Linked DNA regions of Homo sapiens: regions 1 and 2 are each linked to region 3. The links are contacts of gene promoters, found by promoter capture Hi-C in human tissues and cell types (Jung and others, 2019). All regions are on one chromosome and are shown on one strand. Each heading gives the region's core, a stretch centred on a gene start or on the middle of the fragment in contact. The rest is flanking DNA. Distances are from core to core; before and after follow the strand shown. Region 1 overlaps ROR1 (receptor tyrosine kinase like orphan receptor 1). Region 2 overlaps ROR1 (receptor tyrosine kinase like orphan receptor 1). Region 3 holds the start of ROR1 (receptor tyrosine kinase like orphan receptor 1).

Region 1 (2,877 bases), core at 202-2,701, 270 kb before region 3:
AGTATTCTCCACTACAATCCCTTGTTTACAAGAAGAAACCAATGCTGAGACATTAAGTGTGTTGCCTAAGGTCACATAACTGATAAAGAGTGAAACCGCACCTCCAACCCAACCCTTCCTCTTGCACTCCCCAGTATCCAAACCTCTGCCCCAGGTTAAGTACCGAGGTGGCACAATGAAGATAAACATTTTCTGGGTGAATGAACCTGCTGGAAACCAGGGGATATGATGGTTAAAAGTGAAAAGAAAAGAAGTGCTGTGCTGGGCTGGGTGCTGGCCGAACACATTTTCTTGAAAACACAAGGACTAATGCATCAAGCTGAGCTTGGGCTATTGACTACAGAGTAGTAAGAGTGGGTTTAAAGAGTATCCACTGGACCAAAGACAACAAATGGCCAATAATGTGCCTCCTTTTTGGGGAGAGAACACACACACATTAAGAATGGTTCTGCAAATATGCACTTAGAGCAAAACCCCCTATAAATCAGGGTTAATGGGGAAAGACAGCCACCTTTATAGTTCTTTCCTTAGGAAGCCCAGTTAGCATGTGGTGCCACTCAAAGGAGTTTAAGAAAACTTGCACTTTGCTACTTAGAGGCTTATTTTAATGAATAGGTCTTTTTTACAAATAGACAAATTGTATGTAAATGCACTCTTAAAAGCTCAGGGAAACTACTTTTTCCTTTTAAGAAAAGATCTCTACCAAATTAGAGTGGCTGGTCTCCAGCATTTAGATTGTTTTATGTCTCAGGTATAATTAATAAAGGTGGGAGAAGAAGGGAAAAACATATATTAGGCACTGATTCTATCAGGCATTTTACATGTATTATTGCATTTTGTCATCACCAGAACCCTGTATATATACATAGGATTTTCCAGCCCCATTTTAAGGAAGATACCAAGGTTTATAGAGGTCTTAGCATAGCTAGACTGTACACAGGTTGGACTGGAACTCAGTTCCATTGACACTCTTCTCCTGTCCCTACTGCCAATCTGCATTTTATAACATACTGTCATTAAGAACTTTTCCCACTATTAATTGACTTGAGACCATCCAGATAAAACCTCCTTCCCACACCAAAGGTGCTATGATTTTTACCAGTCTTTATTTTTACCCCAGGAGCAGGTTATTTAATGGGATCCTTAGTAACCACAAATTAGGTTACTCTAAGAGACCTTTTGCTGATTATAAGCTTTTGTGGATATATGGTCTGAATGTTTGTGGCCCCCTAAAATGTATATGTTGAATGCTCAGGGTGAAGAGGTGGGGCCTTGGGAAGTGATTAGGTCATGAGGATGGTACCTTCACGAATGGGATTAGTCCCCTTATAAAATAGACCCCAGGGACATCCCCTGCCTCTCCTACCATGTGAGGACACAATGAGAAGACAGCTGTCTGTGAACCAGGAAATGAGCCCTCAACAGGGAGAACCTGACCATGCTGGTGTCCTGATCTTGAACTTCCAGCCTCCAGAACTGTAAGAAATAAGTTTCTGTTGTTTTATAAGCCACCCAGTCTATGGTAGTTTATTATAGCAGCTGAACAGACATAGAAAGTGTATTTTTGTATCTATTTTACCTCAAATTTTCAAGTGTTTTTATTATGAGAAGGTATCATTTTGTTACTTTATATTTATCATATGTGCACTTTTCACTTAAATTTCTAAGTGGGAATACTTAGAATTTATGAGCAGAAACAAACTTAACCATCAGGGAAATGACTTGATTTTTATATAATATGACCAAAGTCTTTTAACTAGAATTTTGAATACAAAGTTTCTGGCTTGAGAATTGGTCCTTGAGTTTTGGTGAAATATTCCCAATCTTGTTTCTAACTTTCTCAGCCTCATCCATCCCAATTTTAAAATGCTAAATTTTTAAAAACTAAACCCCCATCTTTAGCTGAATGCTAGGATGATAAGTAAATCTATAGTCCTAACAACTCTTTAGGTTTAGGGTACATCTACATTCCAAGAAGTCACTTGAAGCTTTTCCCATCCCTGTAAAACCAAACCAAATAATAATAACAAAACCACCAGCTATTACTTTGCTTCACTATAACTTAGTAAGGGCCTAACTTAAAAACAACAACAAAAAAGCAAAGTTTCTGACCCCGGGGCTTAAGCTTTATAGGTCACATTGCAGCCTAAAGACTGCATTCTCCTTTGTGGTTGAATTATAAACCTTTGAAAAATGCTGACAGACCTTAACTATAGCAGGACAGGATGAGTGGGTCCACGTAATGAACTTTTACATGACTGGAGATAGAATCTAGAAAGCCAAGCCTGAAATACATTTCTGGTTTGGGCTTTGGGCCAACACAAACAGAACACATCATAAGTCATCTCTGTGATTTCAGTACCATGCACAGGAGATGCCTCAGCATCAACACGACACATGATCCTCACTGTGGAAGCTTTTGGCTGCTTCTATGTCATGCAAATGCAACAGTTGTGCTTTCAGCTCTGGTAGAGAGCCCTGTGCTAGGAAGAACTAGGCCACATTCAGGTCATTCAAAGACAAAGTCCGTGTGTATTTTCACTACCCTGGCCTGACTCTTAGGCAGTGGCTTGCCCAGTCATAATAAATTCTCAAGCATTTGATGGCTCTAAGTGGAGCCTAGGTGGCTTTCAAAATAAAAGTTTGTCATTCTGGCCCATGAATTTCTATTCCTCTGGGGATCCATAAAGTCATACAATCTCAGTATTCTAAAGTCACATCTTGGTTAAACAGGACCAGAATCCCTTTGTGTGCCAGTCAGCATTCCAACTCAGTTCCACCAAGGCTGACACTCCAGTTTCATGTTTTCCCAGAATGTAAACTTCAAGGAGCACAAAAGGGCACACAAGCCATTCTTTCTCCCTTTCTCCATTCATT
Region 2 (2,700 bases), core at 161-2,660, 280 kb before region 3:
TTGTCACAATACTCTATTTCAATATCCAGTTTTCAACGAAAGTTAGTTCTTTGCCAACAAAATTGGCAAATCTTTAGTTAGACTAGCTAGTCTGACAAAGGAAAAAAAAAGACACAAATTATTAAAATTAGGAATAAAAAAGGGACTATCATTAATGATGTTACAGAAATTAAAAGAATGATAAAGGAATAAAATAACTTAGATAATCTCAATGAAATGGAAAAATTTCTAGAAAGACATAAACTACCAAAACTGACTCAAGAAGAAACAGAAAATTTAAATAGACCTATAACAAGTAAGAAAGTTGAATTAGTAATTTTAAAACTTCCCATGATGAAAATTCAGGCCCAGATTACTTTTCTGGTGATTATACCAAACATTTAAATAAAAATCCTTTACAAACTCTTCTTAAAAAATGGAAGAAAAAGGAATACTTCCCAATATATTCTGAGGCCAATATTACCCTTATATCAGAACTAGACAAAGCTATCACAAGAAATGCAAAGCACAGACCAATATATTTTATAAACATGGACTCAAAAATCCTCAACAAAATACCAGCAAGCTGAATCCAGCAAAAGATAAGAAGAAATTATATACCATGGCCAAGTAGGAATTATTCTAATACAAGCTTGGTTTAACATGCAAAAATCAATTAATGTGATATATCACATTAATATAATAAAGGACAAAAAAAAACCCACCACGATCATCTAAATGGACACACAAAGAGCACTTGAGAAAATCCAATAGCTTTTCATAGTAAAAAACATAGAAGAAAATAGGAATAATAGGGAATTTTCTCAATCTAATAAGTGGCATCTATGGAAAAACGCAGCTAACATCATATTCAATGGTGAAAGACTGAAATCTTTTCACTAAAGATAAGGTAAAAAAAAAACAGGATGTCCACTCTCACCACTTCTATTCAACATTGTACTGAGGGTTCTAGCCAGGGCAATAAAGCAAGAAAAATAAGTAAATGGCACCCAAATTGAAAAGAAAAAAGTAAAACAATCTCTTTTTGCAGATGACACAAGCTTGTAGATAGAAAATCCTAAAGAATTCACAAAAAAACTGCTAGAGCTAAGAAGCAAGTTAGCAAGGGTATAGGATATAAGATCAATATACAAAAATTAATTGTATCTCTATGTAGTAGCAATGAATAAACTGAGATGATATTAAGAAAAAATTCCATTTCCAATAGCATGAAAGATAATCAAATACTTAAGAATAAACTTAAGAAAAGAGAGCAAGACTTGCACACCAAAATCTACAAAACATCATTTAGAGAAGTTAAATAAATGGAAAGACATCCCATGTTCATGGATTAGATGACTTAATACTGTTGAGACAGCAGTACTCCCCAAATTAATCTACAGATTTAATGCCATCCTTATCAATATTCCAGCTGACTTTTTGGTGGCATAAATTAATAAGCTGACCCTAAAATTCATATGGAAATGCAAAGCACTCAGAATAACAACAACAACAAAAGTCTTGAAAAAGAACAATATAGAAAGAGGTGATGACTAGTTTTACATATCAACTGGCAAGGTACAGTCCTGAGTTATTCAAACACTAGTCTAGGTGTTGCTGTGAAAGTACTTTATAAATTTTATTAACATCTACAATCAACTGACTGGTTGTAGGAGGTCATCCTCAATAGTTTGGGTGGGCCTGATCCAATCAGATGAAAGGCCTTAAGAGGTATCTCTGAGGAAGAAGAAATTCTACCTGTGGACTATGGCATGAGCAACTGCCCAAAAGTTCCCAGCCTGTGCCTCCTGGCTCCCTGCCCTAAGGATTTTAGCAAATTCTTTGTAATATATCTCTTTATATATGTATACATACACAATTTTACTGGTTTTGTTTCTCCAGTGGAATACTAATACAGAGTACTCATATTTCCTGATTTCAAAACTTACTACAAACCTATAGTAATCAAGACTATGTAGAACTGAATAGGGATAGACACATAGACACATGTTTAATTGGTTTAACAGAGTGCCAAGACAATTCAATGGGTAAAGAATGGTCTTTTCATCAAATGATATTGGAACAACAGGATATCCACATGCAAAAGAATGAACCTGGACTCCCACCTCACACACTGTATACAAAAATTAATTCAAGATGGACCAAAAACCTAAATGTAAGAGCTAAAACTGTAAATAAAAACTTTTAGGAAAAAAACAGAGGAGTAAATCTTTGTACGCTTGCATCAGGCGATGGTTTTCAAAATCACAACCAACCAAAGAATGGGTAATAAATTGAATGTCATCAAAATGAAAAACTTTTGTGTTTCAAAGAACACTATCAAGAAAATGAAAAGACAATCCATAGAATGAAAATATTTGCAAATCATATATCTAATAAGGGTATATACCCAAAATAAGTAACTCTTACACCTCAAGAATAAAAAGACAATTAATTCAATTTAAAAAATGGGTAAAAAGTTTGAACAAACATTTCCCCAAAGAAAACATAAATGGCCAATATGCACATGAAAAGATGCTCAACATCATGAGTCATTAGGAAAATGCAAATCAAAACCACAATGAGATACCATTTCACACTCACGAGGATGGCTATAATAATGTTTGTTTTTTTTTTTTTTGGAGATAGAGTCTTGCTCTGCTGGCCAGGCTGGACTGCAATGGCATGATCTCAGCTCATTGCAACCTCTGCCTCCTGGGT
Region 3 (2,763 bases), core at 70-2,569:
GGACCCCAGCTTCCCGCAGCGAACTAAGACGCTCCGGCTTGCGGTGAAGTCTTTCTCTAACTGTTGCGATTGTCTTTAGAGATTACCAAAATCAAATATGCATTAGATGGCTTTTCCCCCTCTTGTTTGTAACACGCACACACACACGCGCGCGCGCGCGCGTGCACACCCAAAGCACTTTGGAGCCGCAGGCCGCCTCTGACAGCACATTTTGCACAAAGTGGCAGCGGCTGCAGCGGCGCACAAGTTTTGGCCTCTATGATGACTCTCGGGAGGGCCGGAGGGCCGGGGGCGGTGGCGATGCGAGGCCGCCGGAGCCCCAGGAGGACAGGGCTTTTGTTTGCGTCGATCCGCGAGCCGCCTGGGCTCTGGCGAGCACCACTGAAAATCCAAACTCCCTCCTGGACCGCGCCTTCCGGGCCGGCTCGCAACTTGGGGGCAGGATAGACTTGCCTGAACACCGGCTGGGGCGCGCTAGAGGTCCAGGGAGACAAGGGGGGACGCCCTGCACAGAAGTGCCCCGATCACCCCCAGGACCCTCAAACCCCTCCACGCTTCCTGTCAGCGCTGACAATCGCTGCTGCGCACCGAGGAACGAGTCCCTGGGCGCGCCCCGGCCCGCCGCGGGGCTCCGGGGCAAACCCTGGCCTGGCGGGGCTCCGGGGCAAACCCTGGCCTGGCGGCGCCGGCGAGCCCCGTGGCGGGTGGCCGGACGCGCCCCGGAGCCAGCGCGGCGCTTCCTGCGTGTCCCGCGCCCGGCTGGACGGCGGAAGGGTGGCCACGGGTCAGGGGGTCTGGGCGGGCGGGGGCCGGCGGGCGCCTCTTACCTTGGGCAGCAGCCCCGCGTGCGGCCAGCAGCAGCGCGGCCAGCAGCGCCAGGAGCGGCGGGCGCGTCCCGCGGCGGCGCGGCCGGTGCATTCCTCCTCTCGCTGAGGCGGCGGCGGCGGCGGCTCCCAGGCCGCGCGCAGAACATCCACGGGCTCTTCCCGGGCTCCCGGCCGCCTCGTCCCGGCCGCTGGCGCTCGCAGGACGCCGGGGACGTCTGCAAAGCTCTTTGTCCCTCTAACCTGCTCCCTCGCCTCCGCCTGGCCGCCTCTGGATGCCGCGAGCGCGATCCCTTCCCAGCCCTCTGGCTGCAGCCTCGCCTGGGCCGGCGGGTCAGTCCCAGGCTGTCCGGGTCGCACCAGTGGGCGTGAGTCGCCCTGGGTCGGACTCCGAGAACAGCGCACCCTGCGCCCAGGGGCTGCCGTCCCGGGGCTCCCTCGGCGGCGGCGGTGGCGGCTGCTCCAGCTCTCCACGCTCCCTCTCTCGCTCAACTTGTCACTTTCCACCAACTCTCCAGCCCAGCGCCCCAGCCCCGACCAATGGGAGACGCGGCCCAGGCTGGCGACCCAGCGCCCTCTGCTGCAGCCTCTCAACGCCCGCACCCTCCCCGACTTCGCAGAAAGCGGTCGCGGCTCCCGCGTCTCGGGCACGCTCCCTCCCCTCCCCTCCCCCACACTCCTCAAACTCGCCACCGAACCGAGCGCCGGGGACCTTCGAGGCTACTTGACAGAAGGGGAAACCGAGGCTCAGAGAGACTTATCCGGGATCTCAAGCCAGTTCGTGGCTGGACGACAGTAGACCCAGGTTCTAGCAGCCTCAGCTGTGTCACTGTTAGCTGTGTGACTCTGGGTAATGGCACATTTATTGCTATCATACAATTTCCCTTTTGCTTTCTTCTTGGACCCAAGAGTTGAGAGAGTTCTTACACAAGTAATTTATACTTCGCCTTTTTGTCTTTAATTTGTAGTCTCACTGAATTCAATGTCATCTGTACTGCCTCCTGGCAAGATTTATTGAGGATTATCTGTGGTTATTTTTGCCAATGTCCCATGGTTTTTTGAAAGGTGTTTTTGTCTTCCGAATGTGAAGATAGAATACTGTATCGATTTATCTTCTTTGTATTCATTATTTTTTCAGGCCTTCTGAATCTTTGCATGTTTGTTTGTTTGTTTGTTTTTTGTCTAGCTGCTCTGCCATGAGCCAAGGGATCATTAAAGACCTCTACAATGAGTGTGTTTTTGTCCATTTCTCCTGGTTTAACTTTATGGATTTTGTAATTCATAAATACCCATAATGATTTGACTTTCCCTGTAGAGACTGCCTTTGATCATAAAAAGTGGTGAGCGCCTGCTGTTTTCAGGGCTGTGCTCTAGGCTCTGAAGATGCAAGGGTAATAGGACACCTGTCAGTCTTGCTCTGGAGGAACAGGAAGAAGCCCATAGTCTCTCAATAATCACGTGGCCACTTACTAAATACCTCCTGTTTGCCTTGTGTTTTATATGCATTTGCTCACAAATCCTCCATTGACACTAAAAAGAGTCATTAAAAGTATATACTTCTTAGCTGTTTTACATATATTATCCCCATATTACAGTTTTAGAAATTGAAACTCAAAGGGAAAGTAAATGACTTGCCCACAGTCTCACAGACATGGGGTAGCCAAGCCAGCACTCAGGCTGTTTCCACTGAGAGAGTTAAAGCCTGTAACCAGAGCCTGGCACATGATAAGCACTCACTCGGGAGTTGTTGCTGTTGCAGTAGCCTCTAAGAACCCAGCTTTAGGGTTTTAAAATGAACAGTCACTTCATGGAGGGCGAGGACTCTGTCTCAATCATCTAGGTATCTTGCTGGCCTCTAACAGTACCTGGAATGCAATAGGAGCTCAATTAATGAACAAAGGTTAGGTCACCATTTGGAAAATATTAATTTCTCATCATA

What was found. The method cuts DNA at HindIII sites, captures the fragments that hold promoters and counts their contacts. A contact is called where the count stands out against the background at its distance.
Region 1: a fragment that was not itself captured here is called in contact with the fragment with the promoter of ROR1 in region 3 in 5 of the 25 tissues and cell types used here (aorta, heart right ventricle, liver and 2 more).
Region 2: a fragment that was not itself captured here is called in contact with the fragment with the promoter of ROR1 in region 3 in 3 of the 25 tissues and cell types used here (aorta, heart right ventricle and mesenchymal stem cells).

The regions. Positions count from the first base shown.
Region 1 is chr1:64,039,180-64,042,056 of GRCh38, reverse strand. The region is part of intron 2 of ROR1 (receptor tyrosine kinase like orphan receptor 1); the gene reads right to left. Among named protein-coding and RNA genes, the nearest start is that of ROR1-AS1, 72 kb to the left of the region's middle. The HindIII fragment of the contact is 6,256 bases long and covers 1-2,877 here.
Region 2 is chr1:64,056,597-64,059,296 of GRCh38, reverse strand. The region is part of intron 4 of ROR1 (receptor tyrosine kinase like orphan receptor 1); the gene reads right to left. Among named protein-coding and RNA genes, the nearest start is that of ROR1-AS1, 54 kb to the left of the region's middle. The HindIII fragment of the contact is 4,077 bases long and covers 1-2,700 here.
Region 3 is chr1:63,772,573-63,775,335 of GRCh38, reverse strand. ROR1 (receptor tyrosine kinase like orphan receptor 1) reads right to left here and starts at 1,319. Exons shown (of 9, transcript NM_005012.4): 1 at 828-1,319. The coding sequence starts at 918. RefSeq lists an enhancer at 1-258 and silencers at 124-418, 1,203-1,252. The HindIII fragment of the contact is 10,974 bases long and covers 1-2,763 here.